Regions from separate parts of the Homo sapiens genome. Here regions 2, 3 and 4 are each linked to region 1. The links are contacts of gene promoters, found by promoter capture Hi-C in blood cells and fetal thymus (Javierre and others, 2016). All regions are on one chromosome and are shown on one strand. Each heading gives the region's core, a stretch centred on a gene start or on the middle of the fragment in contact. The rest is flanking DNA. Distances are from core to core; before and after follow the strand shown.

What was found. Contacts are between HindIII fragments. The CHiCAGO score rates a contact against its expected background, and 5 or more counts as called.
Region 2: a fragment that was not itself captured here is called in contact with the fragment with the promoter of TIPARP in region 1 in 8 of 17 cell types (non-activated CD4 T cells, activated CD4 T cells, naive CD8 T cells and 5 more); the score reaches 8.7 in non-activated CD4 T cells.
Region 3: a contact is called between a fragment that was not itself captured here and the fragment with the promoter of TIPARP in region 1, in 1 of 17 cell types (naive B cells). The highest score is 5.3, in naive B cells.
Region 4: a contact is called between a fragment that was not itself captured here and the fragment with the promoter of TIPARP in region 1, in 1 of 17 cell types (non-activated CD4 T cells). The highest score is 5.8, in non-activated CD4 T cells.

What each region holds. Positions count from the first base shown.
Region 1 is chr3:156,672,929-156,676,077 of GRCh38, reverse strand. It overlaps TIPARP (TCDD inducible poly(ADP-ribose) polymerase), which reads right to left and starts at 1,488. Exons shown (of 6, transcript NM_015508.5): 1 at 1,282-1,488. It overlaps TIPARP-AS1 (TIPARP antisense RNA 1), which reads left to right and starts at 365. Exons shown (of 1, transcript NR_027954.1): 1 at 365-2,907. RefSeq lists silencers at 403-762, 1,133-1,202, 1,233-1,282 and an enhancer at 1,693-1,992. The HindIII fragment of the contact is 8,735 bases long and covers 1-3,149 here.
Region 2 is chr3:156,834,975-156,837,936 of GRCh38, reverse strand. All of the region lies in intron 2 of LEKR1 (leucine, glutamate and lysine rich 1), which reads right to left. Among named protein-coding and RNA genes, the nearest start is that of LEKR1, 10 kb to the right of the region's middle. The HindIII fragment of the contact is 183 bases long and covers 1,341-1,523 here.
Region 3 is chr3:156,886,013-156,889,232 of GRCh38, reverse strand. The region is part of intron 3 of LEKR1 (leucine, glutamate and lysine rich 1); the gene reads right to left. Among named protein-coding and RNA genes, the nearest start is that of LEKR1, 61 kb to the right of the region's middle. The HindIII fragment of the contact is 2,994 bases long and covers 287-3,220 here.
Region 4 is chr3:156,854,694-156,857,571 of GRCh38, reverse strand. All of the region lies in intron 3 of LEKR1 (leucine, glutamate and lysine rich 1), which reads right to left. Among named protein-coding and RNA genes, the nearest start is that of LEKR1, 30 kb to the right of the region's middle. The HindIII fragment of the contact is 4,326 bases long and covers 1-2,878 here.

The sequences.
Region 1 (3,149 bases), core at 239-2,738:
ACTCTCTAACCACTCCTATCAAACCCAATCAAGGTAAAATAGACACTAAATCGATTTTATTTATATGTGTGTCTGCGCGTACACACGCAAGCGCGCGCGCGCAACTTTTCCTATTATTGCCCTTTCATCAAACTCGGAAACAAAACTGGGAGGAAGAAGCAGAGAACTGGAGAAGTGGCTGGAGGGGGAAAGCCACTAGAACCTAGCTCCTCAATTAGTTTTCATAACAGAAAAATAAAGATGAGAAGAACACATCCTCCGGTCTCCAGCGGCAGGCGACACACCGCGACACCCCTCACCTCGTGACGCTGGGGTTCTGCGGCACTCCCGGCCAAAAGCACTTTCCGAAAAAACTGCCGCTCCAAAGCCTGCCCGCCCGCCGCCGCGCGACACCCCGGCGCCGAGCCCGGGTCCGAGTGACGCCTCCTGTTGGCCGCGGCGGTTTGCTCAGCTCCTGGTCCCGGGCCGCGCCAACTCCGCGCAGTGCAGCTGAGGCGCCGCCCGGCTCTGCAATTCCGGGTGTTCCCGGGCGTCCCCGCCCCCGCCTTCCCCTCAGCAGGCGCCTGGGCGCCCCCCAACTCCTGTCCAGCCTCCTTCGGACCAACGACCCGCCCCGGCCTCCCTGCATCCCAGAGACTACTCGCGGCGCCTTCTCTCTCTAATTCTTCTTTACCCCCTCAGCTCACCTCCCGAGGAGCGTCCAACGGGTCTTGGGGGCTCGCAGAACTGAGCCGCGAAGCGCGGGGGAAAGGCGGCGAGCGCTTCCCGCGGCGGCGGGGAGGAAGACGAAGACTTGTGCGCTCTCAAAGTTAATGTGAAAACATCTTCCAAACTTCTGGGCTGCAGCCCGAAACGCGGGGTAGCCGGAAGGCTCCCGTAGCTGCCGTGCCCTCCCCCCCGGGGTCTGGGAAGGGCTCCTAGGCGCCTCAGAGCACCCGGGGTCGGCCCGCGGGGGAGGCCGCATAGACGCGCCCCCACCCTGACGAACGGGGAAGGGGCAGGCGCCTGCGACCCCAACTAAATCCTTCGGCGCCTCGGTCTGATGTATACACCTGCCACAGGCTCTAAGTGCCTAAGAAGTGTAAACCAATTCCATCTTCATGCTGACGGGACCCGAGTGAATTCGGTACAAAGGGCAGTCTCAAAATCAATCACCCCGATCCGCGAGAGCCCCGCACACTGCCGGCGCGGGGCCGGGGCCGGGGCCGGAGCCGCGAGGCCGGCGCTCGCACTCCCCGCTAGGGTTCTTCAGCCCCTCAGTGCCCTCCCGGAGCCCTTTACCTGAACGGGAGCCTGAGAGAACGGACGACAGGAGCCGAGTGGAAAGCAGTGCCCGCGCCGGAGATCAGCGCCGAGGGCGGGAGCCGACGTCTAGGGACCACAGAGCCGCGACGCGGCGAGCCGCGCACGGGCCATTCCGCCGCCGCGAACGCAGAAAGCCTCGACCGCGCTCCGAGTCCAGCCAGCTCGCCTGTCACCTCGATCTCTGCTTTAAGTGGCTTCCGGTCGCCTCCTCCCGACGGCCCGTCGCGGAGGCGGAGCCTGGGCGGCCGGAGTTCGGTGGGGTGGGGTGAGGAGGCCGGGCGCTCAGTGGGTGTCGGGAAGAAGACCCGCCCCCTGCGCGCGCGTGCGCGTTCGTTCGAGGGGAGGCGCGCGAGTTCTGTGCGGTGGACTTATGCTCCCGCGAGGGGGCGTGTCCTTTCTCGCGTCCGCAGTGTCCCTGAGGGTCCGCGTCTACACGCGGCTGTGAGGAAGGAAGGCGCGTGCCGCGTGGGACGGGCTCCACCTGCCTGCGGACAGATGGAGGGTCACTTTGTTCCGAGAAGACCCAGACACCCGAGGGAGGATGTGAAACGGAACGACCCGTTTCGGTGCGGTTGGCTTTGTTTATTTGCCTACTCCCCAGACGCCTCCAGCCTCTGATTCCGGCACACCCTGTGAGGAAGCAAACGGCTGCCTCCCCCACTGCCACCAGACGAGGTCGCCTGCCCCGAGCCGGACAGGCTGGACAGGCTGCGCACCTGCGGCGGCCGACTATTTCGTGGGCCTTGTACGCCACCTTGCAGAAGGGAAGCTGTGAGGTTTTGGCGATAGAAGCGCATTTACTTGTGTTTTAAAGCCCACAAACGCCGTAGTGACTAACTTATTCATTCAGCAAATGTCTGTCAGAGCGTCTATTACGTACCAGGCATGTAGCCTGAACTTCACGCCTGTCCTCATGGAGCTTGCAGAGCACCTCTGAAATACACACCACATACGGAATGGCCATATTTTCTGGGTTGTAAAATACTTTGAATTGTAACTCCATATATTGAATAGATTTTCAGTAGTGAGGGAAGAAACAATACATTTAGTTCATATAATCCATATGTACGAAAAAGAAGTGCTGGTAATTCCAGACATGGAAGTCAGTAAAACTAGGAGCTAAGAGGTAATAATCATAGACATTATGATTCTAAGCCTTTGTTAAACGGTTCTAAACCAGACTGGGTAAGCGCACCAGCAATGAATAGATTAAGGGTGTTATCTCCTTAGCAGCTTATTTCAAATTGCATCAAGGCAGGGCCATTAAACTAAGGTGAGAATGATATGGGCGGAATTCAGAGGACAATAGGTAAAAGATGAAAATCTTTACATTTAAAATCTTATTGAGACAAGATCTTGGTCAGTGTCTACTCATACATAGAATTGCCTAGAAGCTAATATTTGAGTTTACCATATTACTGTTGGCTTTCTATTTTTCTCATTTGTTCTGTTTCTTTTCTGTCCTTTTGTGCCTTCTTGTAGATTATTAATTCCACTCCCTTGTAACAATTAGGTTGTTATACATTCTTTATGCTTTTAGTAGTATTTCAGTTATTTATTGCTGTGTTCAAACCACCCCCAAAATATAATGACTTAAAACAATGGCTCTTTTATTTACTCATGATTCTGAATTCTCTGGCACAGGAATTCAGTCAGGGCATAGTACAGGTGGCTCATTTCTGCTCCATGATGTCTGGGGCTTCAATTAGCGTGGGCATACTGGGGCCTGGCTGGAATGGCTTAACTAGGGTCATAAGTCTTGGGACTTAAGGATGGAGATGGAGTTTCATGACAAAAATGAAGTGAACATGATGTGGAAAATATGGACATGGAAGCCACGAGCT
Region 2 (2,962 bases), core at 183-2,682, 160 kb before region 1:
ACAGAAAGAGATGATTTTCTTTTGTAATGCAGCATGGCCCCCACAGCTATGGTACAGCAAGCAGCATCACCAAAGCTGCTGAGAGATAAGGAACCTGGAAAGCTAGCATGCCGGCAAAAGGGTAAGAATTTCCTACCAGCCAGGCTTCTGGCCCCTTTCTGCGCAAACTGATGGTAAAAATCACTGTCTCCTTTGCAAAGTCTGATTAATGGGAAAAAGGATTTGTGTGATTAGTCTGAGGCTGTAGCAAATCTAGTGCACTTTGTGCTATGAATATTCACATTGTTTCACTCCTTTCCTCTCAGTTTTTATCTTTATGTGTCTTCTGTCATGGAGAGGGGCACCGTAGGATAGAACAAGGGCCTAGGATCCCTATAAGCCCAATGCTCAAGCTGGCCCTGTGGGCTGGTCAGTTACAAACTTTGCTGCACGTCCCTGAAACAAAAACTGGACGAGATTTCCTTCTCATCTTGTTTTACGTCCTTGGGAGCTTGACTCTGTTGACCATGTGGAGGTACACTCTCAGTCTCCACCATCCAAAGGGCAGGAATTTTTCAGTTCATGTCAGTATGAGAGGACCGGGTGTCTGAGATGAGTCAGCACACTCTTCATCCCAAATGTGTCATGCCTTTGGGTGAGTCTTGTCTTAAAAGATCCCATTTCTACAGGGCTCTTGTCATCTTTTGTTATCTTAAGCCCATTACAGAGAGTGAATTCTTGGGGACGATGGAGATATCTCCTCTATCCCCTCTCTAAGAATACCTCTTGCTTATATGATAAAATCCTGGAACATTAACATCTGGGCTTGTAAAAGACTCAGATTAAGTCACTACTGAAACTGAGTATACCATTTTTTTTAAAAGGAATTTTAGAAATCTTTTATTCTCCATAATTAAAGTTTTTAAAAAGGATGAATAATGTCCTAACTAGCTTCAGAAAATTCTCTTGAGCAGTTACAATCCTTTACAAGCTTGAAAATGACTGCCCCAGACTCCTTCCTGGAAGACTAATGGCAGCTGCCCCATGCTGTAGCTCAGTAGCTAAGACTACCCTTTTATAGTAGCAGTCTGGGCTCAATTGCTGGCTTTGGGAATGAGTCCTTTCTGGTTGGATACTTGTGGGACTTTTGCCATTTATTGATTCTTTTCTTCTCCATGGACAGCTTCTGATTTCCTGTCTTGAATTTTCTTTTCTCTGAGCTACCTCAGGGGCTATTCTACATATTGTAAAAATGCTTGCTGTCTCTTTGGAGACACCTCATGCATCCATCGATAAGTCATAATCTTAGATAAGACTTACTGGTTTCACTTAGGAGGAGACCTTTGAGGGGGAAAAAAGCTTAAAAGCCAGAGGCTGTTTGTCCTGGCTAGAGTATAGTAATAAAAGATTTAAAAGGATTTCTTTAACGAAGCTCTATGGTTAAAAGTTGGCTTAACTAAAAGTTGATATTTACACTATACATATATTTTAAAGGTCTTTATGCCTTTTCTCTTCTTGGATCTTGTTTTTTTTGAGAAAAAGCTTTTTTTTTCTTCTTGGTTGGCTGAATTGTTTCTCCATTTACTTCTTTTTGCCAGCCTGGGATTCCTTAGGAGAAACAGAGGAGGTACCACGGGCCCCATTTAGGGAAAAACCTGTTTTCCTCATGAAACCCACAAAATTGTAAGTAAACAAATCCTTCTCAAAATTTATGACTCTGCTCTGTTTTGCATTACATTATCCGACCTTTTTAACTTTTGAGGATATCAGAAATTACTTTGCTTTGGCTGGGCTTGGTGGCTTAGGCCTGTAAAACCAGCACTTTGGGAAGCCAAGGTGGGTGGGGTCACCTGAGGTCAGGAGTTCAAGGCCAGTCTTGAACATGACGAAAGCCCCTCTCTACTAAAAATACAAAAATCAGCCAGGCATGGTGGTACATGCCTGTAATCCCAGCTACTCAGAAGGCTGAGGCACAAGAATTGCTTGAACCCAGGAGGCGAAGGTTGCAGTGAGTCGAGATTGCACCACTGCACTCCAGCCTTGGTGACAGAGTGAGACTCATCTCAAAAAAAAAAAAAAAAAAAAAAAAAAAAAGTGAGACAGAGCAAGACTTGGGGGGAGGGAGAGAGGGAGGGAGCGAGGAAGGAAGGAAGGAAGGAAGGGAGGAAGGAATCGCTTTATGAGAGAGGCTTTACGAGAGAACTTTTAGCCTTGGTGTGTAATAGCTAGGTAAGAGATATACTCTTAGGGATGGCTAATGGCAGATGCTTACAATTGAGTTACTACAGGGTGATACTTGGTTCTTTGCACACCGAATAAGAAAACCATGTTCTTGGGGACCCGGAAAGTATGGATTGGGGAATGGACTGATTACAGATTGAGCTGATTGGCTTTGGGTTGCCCAGTAGCCTCAGTGAAAAATGTCCTTGCAATGAGATACACCATAAAATCACTATCTCGTCCTATAGCGTTTCTCTTTTGGGGGACCCAGGATTAGGCGTAAAAACGGAGCCCTTGATTTTTGGGGATCTGTTCTATCTTACAGCTCTGCCTGTCAGGCCCTGGAAGCTGCACGCTTTCTTGGCCCTGTTCCTTGAAGGGCTCCACCCTGAAGCCACAAATCCAATTTAGAAATTTACATATTTAAGAAAACCCCCATTGGTAAGGGTGCCTGCCTGTGTATATTAGAAACTATTATCATACAATGTTTTGGCTTAATGTCTCAGCTCTGTGCTTTTAAAATATAAGTTCTCTATCCTGTTTCACCTAGGAGCTGTCCCTTTAGAAATGCAAATTTAGAGTTGCCTAGCTGACAATTGTTTAGGGCAGGGAATAGGTAATCAAGAAACTGATAGTCTAAAATAGGAAATAGAAACTTAAAAACTGGCAAACAAAAAAATCTTACAACTACCAGATCCATTTCCTTCCATGTAATTATATGTGTTGTGTGTGGGATGTTTACATAAAGAACTCTAATTAACTG
Region 3 (3,220 bases), core at 534-3,033, 210 kb before region 1:
AACCCTAGAAAGATTTTAGTTGCAGTCCTCCCTCCCATAATAGCATATAACATCAGGCAAATATTACAGAGTAAAATGAGGTACTAAATAACTCTCTTCTAACTCAGTGACAACTCTGAGCTTTACTTCAGTAACCAACTTTTTTCTTTAAAAGAGGATAGGAAATGGAGAAAATGATAATGTATTCTCCTAGATAAAAGCATATGAGTGAATACAATATCTAGCCAAAGAAAACAAGATTATTAATAAAGAAATCTATGATTTAGCATTTACTAGAAAATAAGCTTTCCTTTTTAGAAAATAAGAGCTACAAAACAGGTTATGCTTAAGTTAATTTTTCAAAGACATTAACAAAGTATGTTTTGTTTTTCAGCTCATATTCTAATTTGCTTTTCACTGAGTTTTAAAAAAGACACAAAGACAGGCTTGTGTTTGGAATGTGATTCTGGTGAGAAGAACCTGAGAACACTGGACAAAGTCTGACATAGAAGGATGATGATGACAAGTATTCAAAGAAAATGCTGCTTTTAACAGAAAACTTGAAAAATAAAGACAGGCTAAACGCAAAAGGTTAGAGAAAGAGAAGACAAACAAACACAAGCAAAATAAAAGGAGCTAGAGAACATGGCATGCTTAATTAGCTCTCTCTTTCTTCATATAAGCAGCTCCCAAATCTAACCAGGCCCTTTCAGTCTTTTTATGTGTTTCTCCCACTGTGCCTCTCCAAAATCTTCTGGCTTAGTATCATAATAAATCCATTGACTTCATTTCAAAAAAATATTTATTTTGCAAAAACAAAGTTATTAAGAAAAGCTAAGGAAAACAAATCACAGACCTATGTATGGCTCAGTGACAGAATGTTGTAGATCTGGCATTCGTTCTTTCAGCTGGCAATGTTCTACTTCCAGTCTAAGCATGAGTCTGAAGTATATTTTGCTGTTAAGATTGAACATAAACATTACGATTTATATCAACTGTGCATTTCCTTTTAAATAAAAGTGTTGACCAACTGCTTTACTTTACTTTTTTGTCTGTTCCCTAACCCAATCCTCTCCCCACTCCTACTCTGCTACCTTCTTTGAGCCCTCCTACGCAATCACATTCAACTGGATAGTGTCATTAAAGATACTAAAAAGCTACATGAACTAAGGCTACATATTAGACAACATTACATATTGAAAGGGTGATATTCTTTCCATTCTCTGATATATATCACTAGATTACCTCTATAATGATTTTATCTACATATTAATGATAAAATATAGATGGTCAACTATCTTGAGTTTGTCAAAATAGTAACAATGATATAAAACACATATAATTATTCAAATGATATATAGAGAGGTGAATATTCAAATATATTTCTCAAGATATACCATCTGGAAAAAAGAATGAATGAGTGAGCTAACCTAAATTTTTATAAAATGTTAATCAAATGGTTGGGGGAGGTGCAGAAAGATTACCCCAATCCCAGAACTGTAACACAAAAACTATGCTCAGTTTTAAATTTTTTGAGCGCTAATAAAAATGATTCTAAATTAGATTAACTATATGATTAAAATTCATATTACTATATGAATTCTTGTTTGATTGCTCTCTCTCCTGAGCAATTACCAGGGAACTTGCACCAATATGTACATCAGAATGTATAAATTAATCATTAAAATATTTTTCAAAAGAGTGTTCAGAATTCAAAGCATCATTCTGTTGGCCACACAAAACATCTACATAACAGTTCATAATATTTATGAACACGTTTCTAAATATGAAGTAACATATCCTGAAAAAACAATTCTACTTTTTACTAATGTAAAATTTGTAGCTCTTGTGCGCCCCACACTCTGCCTACCAGGCTCCAAGCCTAGGCTTTACAGCCACACTCACTGCCTCACTCCACACCTGCACTGTGCACCTCAAGGGCCCACCAAGAAGGCAGAGAGGTGACAAGAAAATCTCCAAAAGCAAATTCAAAAAATTGGGAGGAGCAACTGTTACACCAGAAACTCAGATATCAACATAAAAATACGGACAATCAAAAAACACAAAAAAGCAAGAAAACGTGACACCCGCAAAAGAAAATAATTCTCCAGGAACAGATCCCAATCAAAAAGAAAATTACAAAATCCCTAAAGGAATTCAAAATATTGATATTAAGGAAGCTCCATGTACTATAAGAGAATATTGAAAAACAGACATATAACATAAAATGGCAGGTAGGAGACACAGCTAATGTGTAGCTCCCACATGGATGGACAAAACAGCATGTGGAGACTCACACCATGATCTTTTGCTCCAAGAACTACTGCAAGAACATACCAGGAAGACACATATAATGATTCTAAATTAGATTAACTATATGATTAAAATTCACGTTACTATATGAATTCTTGTTTGATTGCACAGATCCTTTGAAGGAAGCAGCACGCTGCGACAAACTGCAAAACAGGTGAAAAACTGAGTTGCCAAAGTGTGAAGGGGAGAAAACCTACTTCCAAATACACATCCCCACTGGGGAATCTGAAAATCCAGGTCATGGGAGGTTTTAACCTCACCTAGAGATGAAATGGATTTAGGGAGTCCCACAAAAAAGTAGAAGTAGCAGTGGGAAGTGTCTTGCATGTACTCCCAGTCTCCTGCTTGAGCCCAGTGAAGCCATCCCTGACTGTATCTGACAGGGACCCTTGGGGAAGGCAGCCAGCAGAATTGGAGTGGGAAGCTCCCAGCTGAAATTGGTAGTGGTTCTGACTGGGTACAAATTTCCTTTAGCAGAGTCCAGGGGACAAGGGGGAGCTGCTATGGACACAAGCAAGTGCAGGAGAGCCCAGGAGGCGCCACTGATGGAGTGGGCATATGGGGAGGGGCAAGGTTTGAAAGCCATGCTTGGTTTTTCAGCAGAGTAGCTCACGGCCTGGGGTAAAGTCTGAGTGGGGCATAGCAGGAGTGAGAACAGCCTCTCCAACTGTGTGGGAGCTGGGTGAGGTCTCTCACTACTGGCTATCCCCCACTTCCCTGGCAAACTATATTATGCATCAGAGGCAGCCAAGATCCCCTCTGAAACATAGTATCATTGGCCTGAGAACCCCCCTCCCCCACAGTGGTTGCAGCAAGCCTCACCCATGAAGAGTCTGAACCCAGACCTGCCTAAAACTGCCCCAACCTGATGATATTTTCCTACAGCCCTGGTATCTGAACACAAAACACAGAAACTCTTGGGAGCTAT
Region 4 (2,878 bases), core at 313-2,812, 180 kb before region 1:
TATGTATTTTGAAAATATTTCAAAATCCAAAACACTTCTGGACCAAAGTACTTTTATCCAATGCTTTTATCCAAAGATAAAAGTTACTCAACCTGTAGCTATATACTTATTTTTTAAATCTTCTATTTATGGCAAGTGATAAGTGTTTTTCCACTTACTATATGCATAGAAATACATATATTTAAGGGATAATTCACAGAAAAATAGAATAGTGCAGAGTACTTATAGCAGTGGCAAGAATCATGAAGAAGGCAAGCAAATACATGAGACTTTGGGAACCCTGAAATACGTAACATGATCAAAATGGCTTTCTATCAAAAATGTAAGTTTAGCTTCATATTAGAAAATCCATTAGTATGATTTACTATATTAACAGATTAAAGGAAAACAAATCATATGATCATCTCAATAGAAGATAGAAAAGCATTTATTAAAATTCAATAGTCATCTGATTTTAAATAAACTTAAAGAACTAGAAATAAAAGGAAGAATTCCTTAAATTGATAAAAGGTATCTTTAAGAAACCTATAGCAGATGTCCTTTTAAAAACAGAAACATACTAGGCAGGATTGCATTACATTAGAAATAAATATAAAGATGCATTCTACAAGTTTATTATTCAACACTGTTCTACAGGTCCAATCTAATTTAATAAGACAAGAAAAAGGAGGAAAAGGGTATAACTATTGGAAATAAAAAGATGACAGGCACTATTTGCATATGATGTGACTGTTTTACAGGTATGTGTGTGTTATAAACATATATAACAAATATTCAAGAAAATTAAAAAATTCAAACAACTAATAAAAGAATTCAATGAGGAAGCTAGCTACAGAAATAAATAGCATTCAAAAAAATGTAATAAAAAGACATCTTTCCCAAAAGCAACAAAAATATGTCCAAGGATTAAACTAATACACGATGTATTTAAAAATTATAAAATTGTATTGAAGGATTTAAAGAACATCTGAATAAATGGGGAATCCATGTTCCTGGATAAGAAGCCTTAAGATTATAAAGATGTCAATTATCGAGATAATATAACTGCTCTAGAAAGTAAATGCAATCCCAGTCTAAATCATAACACAGCATGTTTTATGGAATCGGAAAAGCTGATTCTAGAGTTCGTCCAGAAAAGAAAATATACTAAAAAGCCAGGGTAACCTGAAAGGCAAACCAAACACTTGTCCTACAAAATATCAAAAACATATTATAAAGCTAAAGTAGTTAAAAGTGTGGCCCTGACTCAATGATAGACAATAAATCAATAACACAAAACAGACCGTCCAGAAATACGCTAGAAGAAAAATTAATAGGTGGCATTTCAAGTCAAGGGAGAGAGGATGAAGAATTTAATAAGTGATATTGGGCCAACAGCCAGACATCTGAGAAACAACAAACATGAAATTGGAAATCTACCTCAAATTATATACAAAATTAATACTAAATAGATTAAAAAGCTAATTCTAATACTATAAGTTTTAAACATATGTTGTTGTTTCTACTTGCGTGAGTCTATTCCCTCTTCTTCTGATAACAGTACTCTAACTTCTCTTTAGTGAATACCTTTGCTTTCATTGTATGAAGTCTTCATAGACCTATCAATCAAGGTTCCCCCCTTCATCAGGCTAAGGGGGTGGAATTGGAGGGTGGTCACATAAAAGAAGTAAAGCCAGTGAGACTCTTCTGGGATTTGAATCTTGAAGGGAATGATGCAAGGAAAAAAAAGTTGAGTGAATTTACCCCAGATTTCCCAGATCCCTGAACAAGCTCTGTTTCTAGTCCATTTCCAAAGCCAGGGTTCTTGAGTTTTTCCTTTCTTTCAATGAGCTATCACCTCATACTCTTCCAATAAATTCTCTTTTGTGTTTAGGTTCGTGTCAGATAAGTTTCCATTGTTTGCAACTAAAAGAACTTGACACAAAACTCTTAACCAACCAGAACCTGGCACAGGATATTATTAAAATTTTTAAAAGATACAGCAAAAAAATACAATGAAGTGAAAGGACAAGCAACCATGAGAAAATATTAACAACATATATAAACACAGTATAATGCCAATATTATATTAAAAGCACCTACAAATAAACAAAAATAAGCAAATAACCCAATAACATGGTCAATATATGTGTATAGGTAATCAATATAAATGTCTAATACACAAACAAATGTTCAGCTTCATTGGCAAAAAACAAATACTAATTAAATAACCACGAGGTAACATTTTTCACTCAAGAGATTGAAAAAAATTAAGAAAAACCTAATATTAACAAAATGTAGGAAAGTGGTCACTTCATCAACTATTGGCCAAATGTAAGTTAATGCTAATTTCTCAAGGGACTACTTGGTATAATACCCATCAAAATTTTAAACTGGCATTTGCTTTCTTTCAGTAGTTCCACTTCTAGAAATTTATCCTTTGGAACAACATATGTTCACAAGAACATAAATACAAATACTACATGTAATAACAAAAATTGGAAATAATATAAATGTTGAAAAGAAAATTGATTAAGTAAATTATAGCATATTCTTGGTAACAAAAATGTTGGTGTAGTTAAGAACAAGGTAGATCTACATACATTAACATGGAACAATTTCCAATATATATAGTTAAGTGGCAAATGTCAGCAGCACAACAATATGTTTGATATACTGCTAATGTTAAAACTAGTCTATTAAAAGATAAAGATATAAACTACATATATTAAGAAAATAAGGCTGGGCACGTGGCTCATGCCTATAATCCCAGCACTTTGGGAGGCCAAGGCAGGCAGATTACTTGAGCCCAGGAGTTCGAGACCAACATAGGCAACATAGCAAAACAGCATCTCTAGAAAAAAAAAAACTACAAAATACAAAAATTAGCCAGGCATGG